Regions from separate parts of the Homo sapiens genome. Here region 1 is linked to region 2. The links are contacts of gene promoters, found by promoter capture Hi-C in human tissues and cell types (Jung and others, 2019). All regions are on one chromosome and are shown on one strand. The core of a region is centred on a gene start or on the middle of the fragment in contact, and the rest is flanking DNA. Distances in the headings are between cores, read along the strand shown. Region 1 overlaps HECW1 (HECT, C2 and WW domain containing E3 ubiquitin protein ligase 1). Region 2 holds the start of HECW1 (HECT, C2 and WW domain containing E3 ubiquitin protein ligase 1).

What was found. Contacts are between HindIII fragments. The study calls those that stand out against the background at their distance.
Region 1: a fragment that was not itself captured here is called in contact with the fragment with the promoter of HECW1 in region 2 in 2 of the 25 tissues and cell types used here (adrenal gland and dorsolateral prefrontal cortex).

The regions. Positions count from the first base shown.
Region 1 is chr7:43,161,310-43,167,503 of GRCh38, reverse strand. The region is part of intron 2 of HECW1 (HECT, C2 and WW domain containing E3 ubiquitin protein ligase 1); the gene reads right to left. HECW1-IT1 (HECW1 intronic transcript 1) reads right to left here. Exons shown (of 7, transcript NR_135295.1): 6 at 5,789-5,894; 7 at 4,317-4,578. Among named protein-coding and RNA genes, the nearest start is that of MIR3943, 14 kb to the right of the region's middle. RefSeq lists an enhancer at 2,876-2,935. The HindIII fragment of the contact is 4,422 bases long and covers 1-3,749 here.
Region 2 is chr7:43,108,521-43,114,446 of GRCh38, reverse strand. It overlaps HECW1 (HECT, C2 and WW domain containing E3 ubiquitin protein ligase 1), which reads right to left and starts at 1,800. Exons shown (of 30, transcript NM_015052.5): 1 at 1,510-1,800; 2 at 56-290. The HindIII fragment of the contact is 15,211 bases long and covers 1-5,926 here.

The sequences.
Region 1 (6,194 bases), core at 289-2,788, 53 kb before region 2:
AACCTCCCTCCATCTGGAGTTGTTGAATAGTGGATCCCTTAAATTCATATCCACCCTTCTAGAACTTCAGAATATGACTTTATTTGGAAAGAGGCTCTTTGCAGAGGTGATTAAGCAAGGATCTTGAGATAAAATCACCCTAGATTTAGGGTGGACTCTAAGTGCAATGACTAGTATTCCTCGAATAGAAGAGAAGACACAGAGACATAGGGGAAGGAGGCCATGTGGAGATGAAGGCAAGGGCTGGAGTTATGTGGCCACAAACCGAGAAAGGTCAAGCACCACCAGGAGCTGGAAGAGGATAGGGGAGGATCCTCCTCTAGGGCCTTTGAAGGGAGCATGGCCCTTCTCATACCTAATATGAGACTTCTGGCTTCCAGAACTGAGAGAATAAATTCCTGTTGCTTTAGGCCATAAAGTTTGTGATAAGTTGTTATAGCAATGGGAAGTGAATCCACTATCTCATCAGAAAGGGGTCTTTTGGAAACATCCCACTCTGGTCATGCCTCTTGCCTGCCTTGCGTCATTCAGTGGCTGCCTACAGCCTGAGAGGTGAAGTCCCCTGGGGCCTGGCACACGGGGTCATCCACATGCGGCCACAGTTGCTGAGCTCTCCAGGAGCACCTGTCATCACCCATGACCAGCCATGGCCTGGGCCTGTGCTGCCCTCCCTGGCCCCACCCTCAGTCCTGTGCTGGTAATTAATTAAGATCAATAATTCAAATGGGCCCTTTCCACCTGACCAACAGAATGGTTTGCAGCATTCACCTCAGTGTCTTAGTACTCTTTAGTGGACAAAGGTTCCTATTATACTTCCTCTCAAGTTATGAATCATCTATAATCATCAATAAAATGTAATCTGAAGGATAATGTATACTGTACAATGTGAAATAAACAAAACATCTTTTTAGTAAAGAAAAGCTTTTACTTGTAATGTGACTAACCCCTATCTTTTCTTAAAATATCAGTAATAATAAGAGTTGGCTCAGGGGTCAGCCTTCCCTCATCCATCTCCACCCTGCAGCTGGCCTGGGTGCTGCTTCTAGATCCTAATACTATTATAGCTTGGGTAGGCATCTAGCTTATCACTCACCATTTCAAAGTCAATCTCCTTCACCAGGCCAGGCACAGTGGCTCATGCCTATAATCTTAGCACTTTGGGAGGCCAAGGCAGGTGGAACACACCTGAGGTCAGGAGTTCGTGACCAACCTGGCCAACATAGCAAAACCCCATCTCTACTAAAAATACAAAAGTAGCTGGCTGTGGTGGTGGGTGCCTGTAATCCCAGCTACTTGGGAGGCTGAGGCAAGAGAATTGCTTGAACCCAGGAGGCAGAGGTTGCAGTGAGCTGAGATAGCACCACTTCACTCCAGCCTGGGCGAAAGAGTGAAACTCTGTCTCAAAAAAAACCAAAAACACAAACAAACAAAAATCCCTTCACCAGAGAGGAAGGAAGACTTTTAACCATGTCCAATTCATCTTTGTGACCTAGCCACTCCAGCTGTGCTTGAACCACGGCAGGAGCTCATAGACACTGGTTGAATAATTGAATGAGTGAATGAGTATATTAATAGGCAAGGAGTTAGAGGGAAAGTCCTCTTTTAAATCTGCATTGGGACTCAGAATCTCAACACATGCAAATGGCTGATGGCATGGTTTTATATCTCTGGCATGACTGATTGAAATAAGAAATAGAAAGGAAGTTATTTCTGCTGGAGACACAGCATCTCAACTTTATTTGTCTTAATATAAAGCTTATAGCATATTTTCACAACTGCTGGCATGATTGATTGTAAGGAAACTATTACTAAAAAAAAATCTAAGTGATTAGAGTGGGCTCACAACGCCTATGTATGGATAAAAAGCATCATACAACCAGAAACCAAAAACTCTGCATAGGAGAGTTGTGTCCTTTTCAAATGCACAAAAAGCAAAAATAAAATCACTCTTATGTTCTCAAATCTATCTAAACTCCACAGAGTAAGCATCTTACACCTTCACGGATAATTGATTGAATTGTTATTAATGACCTTTGATGTCATTAGAGGCTGTTGTATTCAAACACACACACATACCTGTGTGCACACACACAAACACCCCCCCCCGCCAAAAGCCCAGTGTCCTTTGCATTATTTTCTAACCTCATGATATGTAACATAATTCATACACAGTGTTCTAAAGTTGGAAATTGTATGCACATGGCTGCCAATGTGTTCTGGAAATCTCCAACTCTGGACACAAAAGTGAAAACAGAGGAAAAGAAAAAGGGAAATTGACACATTTCAATAAACATTACAAACAATCAGTGCACTGTAATAATACTTGAAATAGATGCCAGGGAAAATTAAAATCCCTTTTATTTCCATTATTTTATTATTTTCATCATTTAGGGATTGAGAAGGCCTTACTATTGAAACCAAATTTCAAGCCAGACTAACTTATGGCATTTCTCCAAAAGTGGAAATGTTCTGAAACAAGGGAGCAGTTACAAATATAGACAAAGGGGCATTCCCTGACTCAGAGAGAGAGGAACCTTTAGAAACCACTGATTCATCCTTCTGCTTTCAGCCATGACTCTTCACTCTTAAGACACTCGCTGATGAATGAGCTTGTGTTATGATGACCTGCAGAGTGCAGGACAAATATTCTGAATCATACACCATGGAAGCGCGGCTGCATGCTCGGCATCTCCTTTCTAATTCTGGAAGAGTCTGCACTTGCCTCACATGCACCATCAGTCCTGGAGATCTGACCCCAGGATGTGGCGCTCTCTGTCCTCGCCTCTTTCTCCATTGCTTCTCCCTCCCTCCACACCAAAAGGAAAGTCCAGTCCAGTGGCCCTGAAACACACCCACTATGCACCAAGGACTGTGCCATGGCTGCTGGCCCTGCAGGGGCCTGACCCTCAGGAGGCCTGATAAAGGAAGGAGGGAGGGGTGTGTCTTCCCATGGGGAGCACAGGAGGGGTGCACTGAGGGGAGTCTGGGCACACAGCACAGATGCCGAGCAGCCCCCTCCACTCAAGGCTCGATCCAGAGGACACCCTGGTGCCTTCTTGATTTCCCAATGTTGCTGAATCTTCCCCCAGGAGGCCCCACTGGCACCTTCAACTCAACTTATGCAAAACACTGTTTCAATATGTGCTAACATTTTATTGGTCATGCACTTTTTATTAGCTGCTTTAATTTTTTGAAAGTAATTGAGGCATAAATAAATCATAAAAATAATAACTATTAAGTGCCAATGGCTGAGCCCTTCCTCCTCCTGCCTTCTCTGCTGCCTCCCTGTCTCCAGCCCATGCAGACCAGATGACTCGGGCCAACTCTGACTTCTCTTTGGCCATTCCTCTCCCCAGCCTGGTCCTTAGCTGCTCTTTGACTTCCCCCATGTATTGGCTCCCTTTCATTCCCACTACCTCCACCCAAGCCTGGGCCTCCAACCGCTCTCTTCGCTGCCTGCCCTGGCTCTTCTCCCTGTGTGAAATCTGCCAGCCAGGGCAGGATGAACTCCTGCCCACCTCCTGTCACCCAAGGCCCAGTTTTTTCTCTTAGACTGAGATTCTAGAAATACTAAATAAATTACTTGCTCTTGCCAGAACAGGACAATGACTTCCTTCTTTACAGTTGTACTCAACTGTTCGAGTCACCTGCAATACCCTCATCTTTGCTTGTCCAAATCCTTCCATCAAATCCAAACATCTCCACCATTTCTCAGTGGTTAGACCCAAGATGTGAGGGTTCCTGGCAGCCACATGTAGCAGGCAAGGAGGGAATGAACAAGATTAGGAAGAATTAAAGCAGAGCCATTTGGGGGAGCTTAGTTGATCGAACCTGGGGCAACTCTTTCCCAGGGGTCATAACTGGTCACTGAATCTGGGTTCTGGCTGACGGCTGGGAATGGAAGACCAGGAGCATGAGGGTGACTTGTAGCAAGCTCCCTGGATAACTGGCATATGGTCTGCGACTTGGCCTGGACCTTCAAATGGAAGGTCAGGGAGCCTAGGGAGGTGGGTTGAGGAATCCAGCCAGAAGCAGAGCCTGCCTCCATCTCCCCAGTCTTCGCAGCACCTCCCCCCGGACAGAACAAGGGTGGTGTTTGGCACACAATGAGCACTTCTGTCACTGCACACAGTGGGGGTGTGTATGTGTGTGTGCATGCACACTGATCAACATGGTGTCCTTTCCATATATGGTTCGCAATCCAACCCAAGGTGAAATGTATTTGCAATCCTCAAACTAGTAATGAATCTGATCGGATTTGCGTTCTTTTCTTCCAATAGCTTGGCAACGGGGAGAAATTGTTCAAGAAGCCTGGTGTGTGTTTGTTTGTTTATTGGGAGTGGTTTGCACAGATGGGATACAGCAAAAGGCTTTGGGACTGTTCTCGTCTGTGCTGTGTGCTCCTGGTCAACTCCCTTGCCTTTGCCTGCACAGGTCCAAAGGTGCCGGGTTGTTTCAGTTAATGAGTTTCATAGTCACACAGGATTTGGAGTCTAACAAAGGTAAGCAACTCCTCTGCTCACTGCTCATGTGACCTTAGGCAACTTCTTTGACTTCTCTAAGACTCATGTTCTTCATCTGTAAAACAACAGTAACAATAGTTGCCTCTTTATAGAGTTGTTGAGAGATTAGCTCAGATGATGCTTGTAAAGGTAGTTAGAACAATGCCTCCCACAGAACAAGTGCTCCATAAATTACTGCTGCTATTATTACAATGTTATTATTACAGTAGTATGGGAGCTTTGTTTATAGGGACCACTACCTCTGTATTAAAAGGCATTCCCAGGATCTCCAAGTGAGATCTTACTCAGTTTTTCTCCCTATGGAATCTCCTGGCTTACTGCCTGTAATAAGATGAATGGTGGGCCTCCAAAAGATATGTCCATGTCCTAATGCCTGGCAACTGTGAATATGACCTTATCTGGGAAAAGGGTGCATATGTAATTGAGTCAAGTATCTTGAGATAAAAGTTCATCCTGGATTATTCAGGTGGATCCTAAATCCAATGACAAGTGTCCTTGTGAGGGACACGCAGAGGAGAGACAGAGAGAAGAGGAGGCAGACCATGGAGATGGAGGTTGGAGTGATGCAGTCATAGCCACCAAACAACTGGAGCCCCCAGAAGCTAGGAGAGGAAAGGCACTGATTGGGCTCTGGAGCCTTGTGAGGGAGTACAGCCCTGCCAATGCCTGGATCTCAGACTTCTGGCCTCTAGAACTTTGAGAGAATACATTTCTATTGTTTTAAGCCACAAGTTTGTCGTAATTTGTTACGGCAGCCCAAGGAAACTGATCCACTAACAAGTAAGTTCTAAATATCATCTTGCTTTCTTTTTCAATTCCTTACAAAACACAAGGAAACGAAAAAAAGTAGCTGAGAGTGATAAGACACACTAATGGATAGATCTTGATGTTCACTAAAGTGGATATCCAATTGTTTATGGTGTTCATTAACGTGAAATCATTTTTTTCCTTCCACCAGTTATGAGAGAAGAGTGATCACAGAGCAAGTGACAGATGCCACCATCACATCTGCATGTTCAATAGTGGGCGGTGAAAGGCGCAAGCCCATGAAAAGCTCAAGCACCACCCCAGGACATTCATGGGAAACGGGTCACATTGCAGTTATAGCACAGAGGACACAGATACACACAAGTGACACCACAATGAAGACACTTTGCAGAGAAGTGTATATGGGAATTAGGGACTGGAGAAAAAGGAAAAGGAAAAATCTAAAACATAAGCTTAATTAGCCAGGAGTAACAGAATCACCTTAGTGATACAGAGACCTTGGAAGTTCACCCTCCAAAATAATGGAAACCGTCATCACCTCTCCAACCTTAGCTTGAATACTTCCAGGAATGGAGAGTTCACTATCTCACAAGGCTGCATTATCTGAAAGCGATATTTGAAATATCTTTCTCAGTCAGAGCCAGAGAAAATGTGTCTCACTGTACCATGCACTACTGGTGCTGTTTCTGATTTAAGAACTGTACACAATCCTTACATTCATTTACTCAACAGATACTGCCTAGGGCTGTGCTGTGCACCAAGCACTGTAATTACACAAGGGATCTAGAGGCTTAGGAGCCCTCTGCTCTCAGGACAAGGCCACACTTCAGAGAGGTTGCTATGGGATCTCTAACTTCCCTCCACCAGCTCTTCTCATTCTCAGACTGAATCTAAAACATTACC
Region 2 (5,926 bases), core at 551-3,050:
CTTCTTAGTGGAAAACACACATTTTTAAATGAATCCCCAATCTAGAATGAATTACCGTAATAGCCACAGCCGGAGTGAGTCTGCTGATGAGAAACGCAGATCTGGCCACCTGCTTTGAGACGCCTTGGACCACAACACTGCCGGGGTCTTTAACGGTTGGCCTTTTCGGGTAGGGCATCTGCCCTCCTAAATCGCGTTTAAATCCCAGGAAAAGAGAGAAGATGCCTCCCTCAATTTTTGAACTATGCTGCTCTTGCTGTATCCGTTTCTGCTGAACATAGCATTGATATCTTTTCAAAGAGAAGGGGGGAAAACAAGGGGAGAATTGCACCACTGCAGATTCCAAGAGAAGTAAGCACAAAACTACAGCAACGTCAAATAATATCTTCTTCGGCAACTAGGAAAATCCCCACATGCTCTCTGGTGTCAGCCCAATGCAGACTGAGGCGCGCTGTGCCCGGAACCACAGGAAGCCGGGCATCTCTGCAGCCTGTGTCCCTGCCAGCTCCCCCTACGCGCTGAAATTCGGCAGGGAAGAAGTTATGGTGCCCAGCCTCTGTGTGCAAGACAGAGACACCGCGCATCATGGCTCTGAAAATCAGCCAAGTGGCCGGGACGTCAAAGCGGCAGAGCAATCAGAATGCCCTGGAGCCGGGGATGGAGGGGCCACATTGTTTGAGCCCTCGGATTTTGCTGCATTGTCACCGCCCGGGAACGTGGGGGTAGCAGGAAGCGCACCTCCAGCCAAAAATGGACCGGACGCATTCCCCCCCCCTCCCCGCCCCGGCAGCTCCCTCCCTGCCTGTCTGCAAGTCGCAATACGGTAGGCGACATGACTGCTCCCGCTAAAACTCAGGTGGCAGGCCCGGCTGAGCGGCGCAGCCGGCCGGTAACAGGGAGGCGCTGGGGGAGCACCCACACAGCGCCTCCTCCCCTCCTGCACCCGTCCATGGGAGCAAGGGCCGGACCTGGCCACGCGCCCCTCGAGCGAGCACCGGCGAGCCCGTGCGGAGGCTCTGGGCGCTCTCTGGGCTAACCACGGGCATTGCATGGGACACAATTGTTCAAAAGCGAGCCCAAGGCGAAGCGCAAATCCAGAGCTTTGGTTCACAAGGGGTGGGTGTGGGCTGGGAAGGGGGATTACGTAGGTCTCTCCGCCCCCTCCCCTGACACCTCCTCGCCACTGGGAGGGCGCTGAGGGGCGGGGGAGGCGCTGCGAACCCGCTTGGGGGCTTCTTTGTTTCTCTCCGTACCCCGCAGGAGGGCCGGGTGCGCCTGCAGTACCCAAGCCGGGGTCGCCACCCGGGGATGCCGGCCCGGACCGGGCGGCGGCGCGACCCAGGCTGACAATTGAACCTCGCGGGAGAAGCGAGAGGGTGGGGAGGAGGGTGGATCTCGGCCCCGAGAAGGGAGGGCGCTGCCGGGGCCTCGCGTGCGGCGGGGAAGCCGCCCAGAGAAGGGCGGGGGGGAAGGGGCGGCAGACAGTGTCCCCGCGCTACGCCCGCTTACCTTGGCAGCCCTGGCCTGGGCACAGATCATGCTCCTGTCAGCGCGCAGATTAGAGCTGGGGGGCGCACGTGCCCCGCATAGTGCACCGGGCGCCTGGGACTGGCTGGGGAGGGGACCCTGGCGACCGCCCGCTCTCGCTGCGCTCTGGCTGCCGGGTGCCCCGAGAGAGCGGAGGCCACGGCCACTGTCACGGCGGAGGGGCGCGCGCGGCTCGGCGAGTGTGTGCGCGAGGAGGGGGCCGGTTCGGTCAGAGTCGCACGGTGTTCCGGCTCCAACAACAGCGCCTGATGCGCGGTAACGCAGCACACTTCATCGCTTTATCCTCCCGCTTGCATCCCCTCCCTCCCTGCCTGCTCCTCTGTGGGTACCAGACTCCAGAACCAACCACAAGCCGGGCTTGCTCTCATTAGCGCTGCCCCGCCCTGCAGCCTCCGCGCACCCCCACCCCCGCCCCCGCGGTAAATATATATCGATTCTTGTTACCGCCGGCCCCATCCTTCCAACACCCAGCACGCGTACTGGGCATATCCAACACCAACCCTGGCTCCTCGGCCCTTTTGTGTGTGTGCAAACAGTGTAGCAGAAAGGATGCGGTACAGACACTCTAGGCGGGTACCCTGTGACAGGTGTTCTTGGCCTCTGTCTTAGACACTTTCCTCGCTTACCTTACACACAGTTAAGAACGCTCAGAGACACATTTCAGGAACCGTCCTGTATTTGCACAAGCACACAAAACATCGTAATGACAAATGCAAAGGATGAAAATCACCCCAGAATATCTATTGTTGGGCAAACCTAGCTCCCAAACCGCGTTTTCTATTACACTGCACACAGTGTCAGAATGCTAGAACGAGAAGGAGGCAAAGTCTAGACCCTTCCAGGTACAGCCAACTGAGATGCAAAGAGAAGTGAAATGCTGGTTACTATTGGTGGTTGGCTGCTCCATGTATGCACATTTTTGTGCATCTGGTCGACATTTGGTTTGTGTGTGTTCACATAAAATGCAGAGGCTTTGAGCACATAATCTCTATAGCCTGGGATTTTATGATCCAACCACATTCTCTACAATGCTGATTTATTCCTTCCCATTATTTTGCCCAGCATCCTCTACATGAGCTTTTTTTCACTTTCTGAGAAGTTATCTTCTTTCCCAGACCCCAAACTCCGCCTCCTCTAGAATAAACAAAGGCTTCACCCTGACTTCAGAACTCCTTACTGAAGACCTGAGTACGGACTTGTCAAAACCAAATCTCCTTCCCCTTCCACCCACAGTGGCTAGTTTCTCAGTGCCTCTCATTCCACTGACCTGCCTCTTGGCATTGATTTCACTCTTACAACTGGAACTTTCCAGAACTGGAAACTTTGGACGATGTGAAGGCAGCTTCACCAGCTGTGCTCTTTTCTGCAAGGAGGCACAGCCCTTCTCTTTCCGTATTCCACTTGGGGTGCCCAGTCCTTTCCTGACAGACCCTTTTCTTTGCCTGACAGCAGTCAGATCTTCTGGTCAGATGAGCTCAAAGCAGACCATTTTCAAACCTTAGCTAAGAATCCACACAGAAAGCTGTGCACACATTTCTCCGGATTTTACACTTGGATTAGTACCAACTCCTATATGAAGAAAACTCTCCGAGAATAGACTTGAACAGGCTGTGGCAGTAAACAGCAACAGCAACCAACCATGTGATGTTTCCAACCAGAGACTTGAAAGAAAACAAAAACTTTCACATAAACCAGCATCCATGGTTTCTAAATTAGCACAATGTCACCAAACCACAATAAAGGATAATTTTTTTACCTCAACTAATTGCCAGGATGTTCACCTCATTATTTTCAGTGAATCAGCATCAACTTGGCTCAGAGATGTTTGCTCTCTGTTCTATCCATCATGGAGATGACTTGACAAGTCCACATCTCTCATAGAGGTTATTGATGTAGCAATCCTTGTGGTGTGCTTTATCCTCCCCTGAGGAGTTGCTTTTTTTATACTGAAGACAAAAGATATTAAAATAGCAGTACACAAAGTTTCACATCCTGAGTAGATAAAGAAGCCTTGTAGAGCAGCTTCTACATGTCAGGTGCAATGGCAGCATATACAGACTCCTGTGTATTGTCCCCTTTTATTTTTATTATTTTTATTTTTTGTGAGGGGTCTCACTCCAATGCCCAGGGTGGAGTATAGTGGTGCAATCTCCATTCACTGCAACCTCCGCCTCCCAGGCTCAAGCAACTCTCCCCCCTCAGCCTCCCGAGTACCTGGGAGTACAGGTGTGTGCCACCATGCCTGGCTAATTTGTTTTTTGTATTTTTAGTGGAGATGGGGTTTTGCCAAGTTGCCCAGGCTGGTCTTGAACTCCTGAGCTCAAGCAATCCTCCTGCCTCAGCCCCCCAAAGTGCTAGGATTACAGACGTGAACCACCATGCCTGGCCTGTTTTGTTTGTTATTCCTAACAGTCCCCCTGTAGTCTGGGTAGCATGATCCTATTTTACAGAAGAAAGCAAAAAGGCTATGTTAGTTCTGTAATTTCCTTAAGTCTTGTTTCAAGCAGAAGACCTTGAATCTGGAGTTTACAGATGTCAGCTGCCCTAACCTTAAAGAGAAGAGTATTTGGTGGAGAAAGGAAAAGACATGGCATGAATCTTAAAGCCATCCTAGTAGTCATATTTATTAAGTTTCTAATGTACTCAAAATACTGTTATAAATAATAAGTCACAGTCCCAGTGCGTCCCTCCTAATACTAACCTTATATAATGGCGTAAAGTGAATGTTGAAGGTTTTGAGATGCATATACAAACACCTGTATTATCATAATGCCCATGCAACCGAATCTTCCACCTTTTGTAACTCGAGGCCCAGGAGGACCCAGGGAGGGGGTGACATGCCTGCTCACCTGCTCATCTCAGGCCACATGCAGATAAAGATTAGCAAACAGAGCACCATTCACAAATGGTCCCTACAATGCTGAGAAAACGATAACTTGAACCAATCCGGGGCTTTATCTTTGGGGATAGGCCTTCAACATAATGTCGGAAGTGAACGCACTATAACTAGGGGAGGAAAAAGACCGAGCTGTTGAAGCTATCTCACATAGTCTCTGCACAGGAGCAAATTGTAGCCAATAATACAAGATTGTCATTTGGACTTTCCTAATGACTAATGATGGTGAGCATCTACTTTTGTGCTTCTCTTCCATCCGTCTATCATTTGTAGTAAAGTGCTCAAAATTTTTGCTCATTTTTAAGTGGGTTGTTTGCTTTTATATTGTTCATTTTTGAGAGTTCTTTCTGTATTCTAGATACAATGTCTTTGTCAGATAAGTTTTCTGAATATTTCCTCCCCATGTGTGGCTTGTCTTTTCATTCTCTTAGTAGTTTCTGTCACAGAGTAAATGTCTTTAAAGTTGATGGAGTTCAATGTATCAACTTTTTCTTTCAGAGATCATGCTTTTGGTATATCTAAGAACTCTTTTGACTAACCAAGGTTACAAAGAGTTGTGTTTTGCTGATAAGTTTCAAGATTTTACATTTTACACTTAAGTATTTGGTTCATTTTGAATTCTTATTATTTTTTAGGTGTGAGCTATGGATGGTGACTTTTTTATTTGTTGGCTTGTTTTTGCACATGGGATGTCCAATTCTTCTAGCACCACTTATTGAAAAGATCCTTTCTTGATTGAATCGCTTTCGCAACTTTTCAATAATCGCTTGGTTAGATTTGTAGGGGTCTCTTTCTATATTCTCTGTTTTGTGCCTCTGATCTGTCTTTCTATTGTTTTACAAATAGTACACTATTTTGTAGATGTATACTGCCTTAAAATCAGGTAGTGTGAACCCTCCAATTCTGTCCTTTTTAAACATTATTTTGGCTATTTTCATTTCTTTGCCTTTTTATATGAATTTAGAAATGGTTGTCAATATCTACAAAAAAATTCCCACTGGGATTTTGATTGCAGTTGTGTTAAATTTATAGATGAATATCAGAAGAACTGACATTTTAACAATCTTCCAATTTCTGAATACCTTTCAACCCACAAACTTAGCATTTCTCTGCATTTGTTTAGGTTTCCTTTGATTTATTTCATCAGTAGTTGAAGTTTTCAGTATGCAAATTCTACACAGATTCTAAGAGTTTCCATGTAGATTCTAAGAGTTTCATTTTTTTGGTACTATTGTAAAAGGTATTGATTTTAATTTTGAATTTCACTTTGTATTAAAGTGTACCTGGGATTTGTTTTAATTAAGTATGCACATGCAGACATACAGACATGGAAATGCTTCTCATGAAGGGAGAAGTTTATACTCACAGAACCCTAGAAACAGGAGGCATGGCATACCGCGCAGGGCCACAGGGGGAGCTCCTGGGTCAATCAGGAGGCAGAAGCCTGGGAGAGCATGGCTCAGAGCCTCTATTTTGTATGCT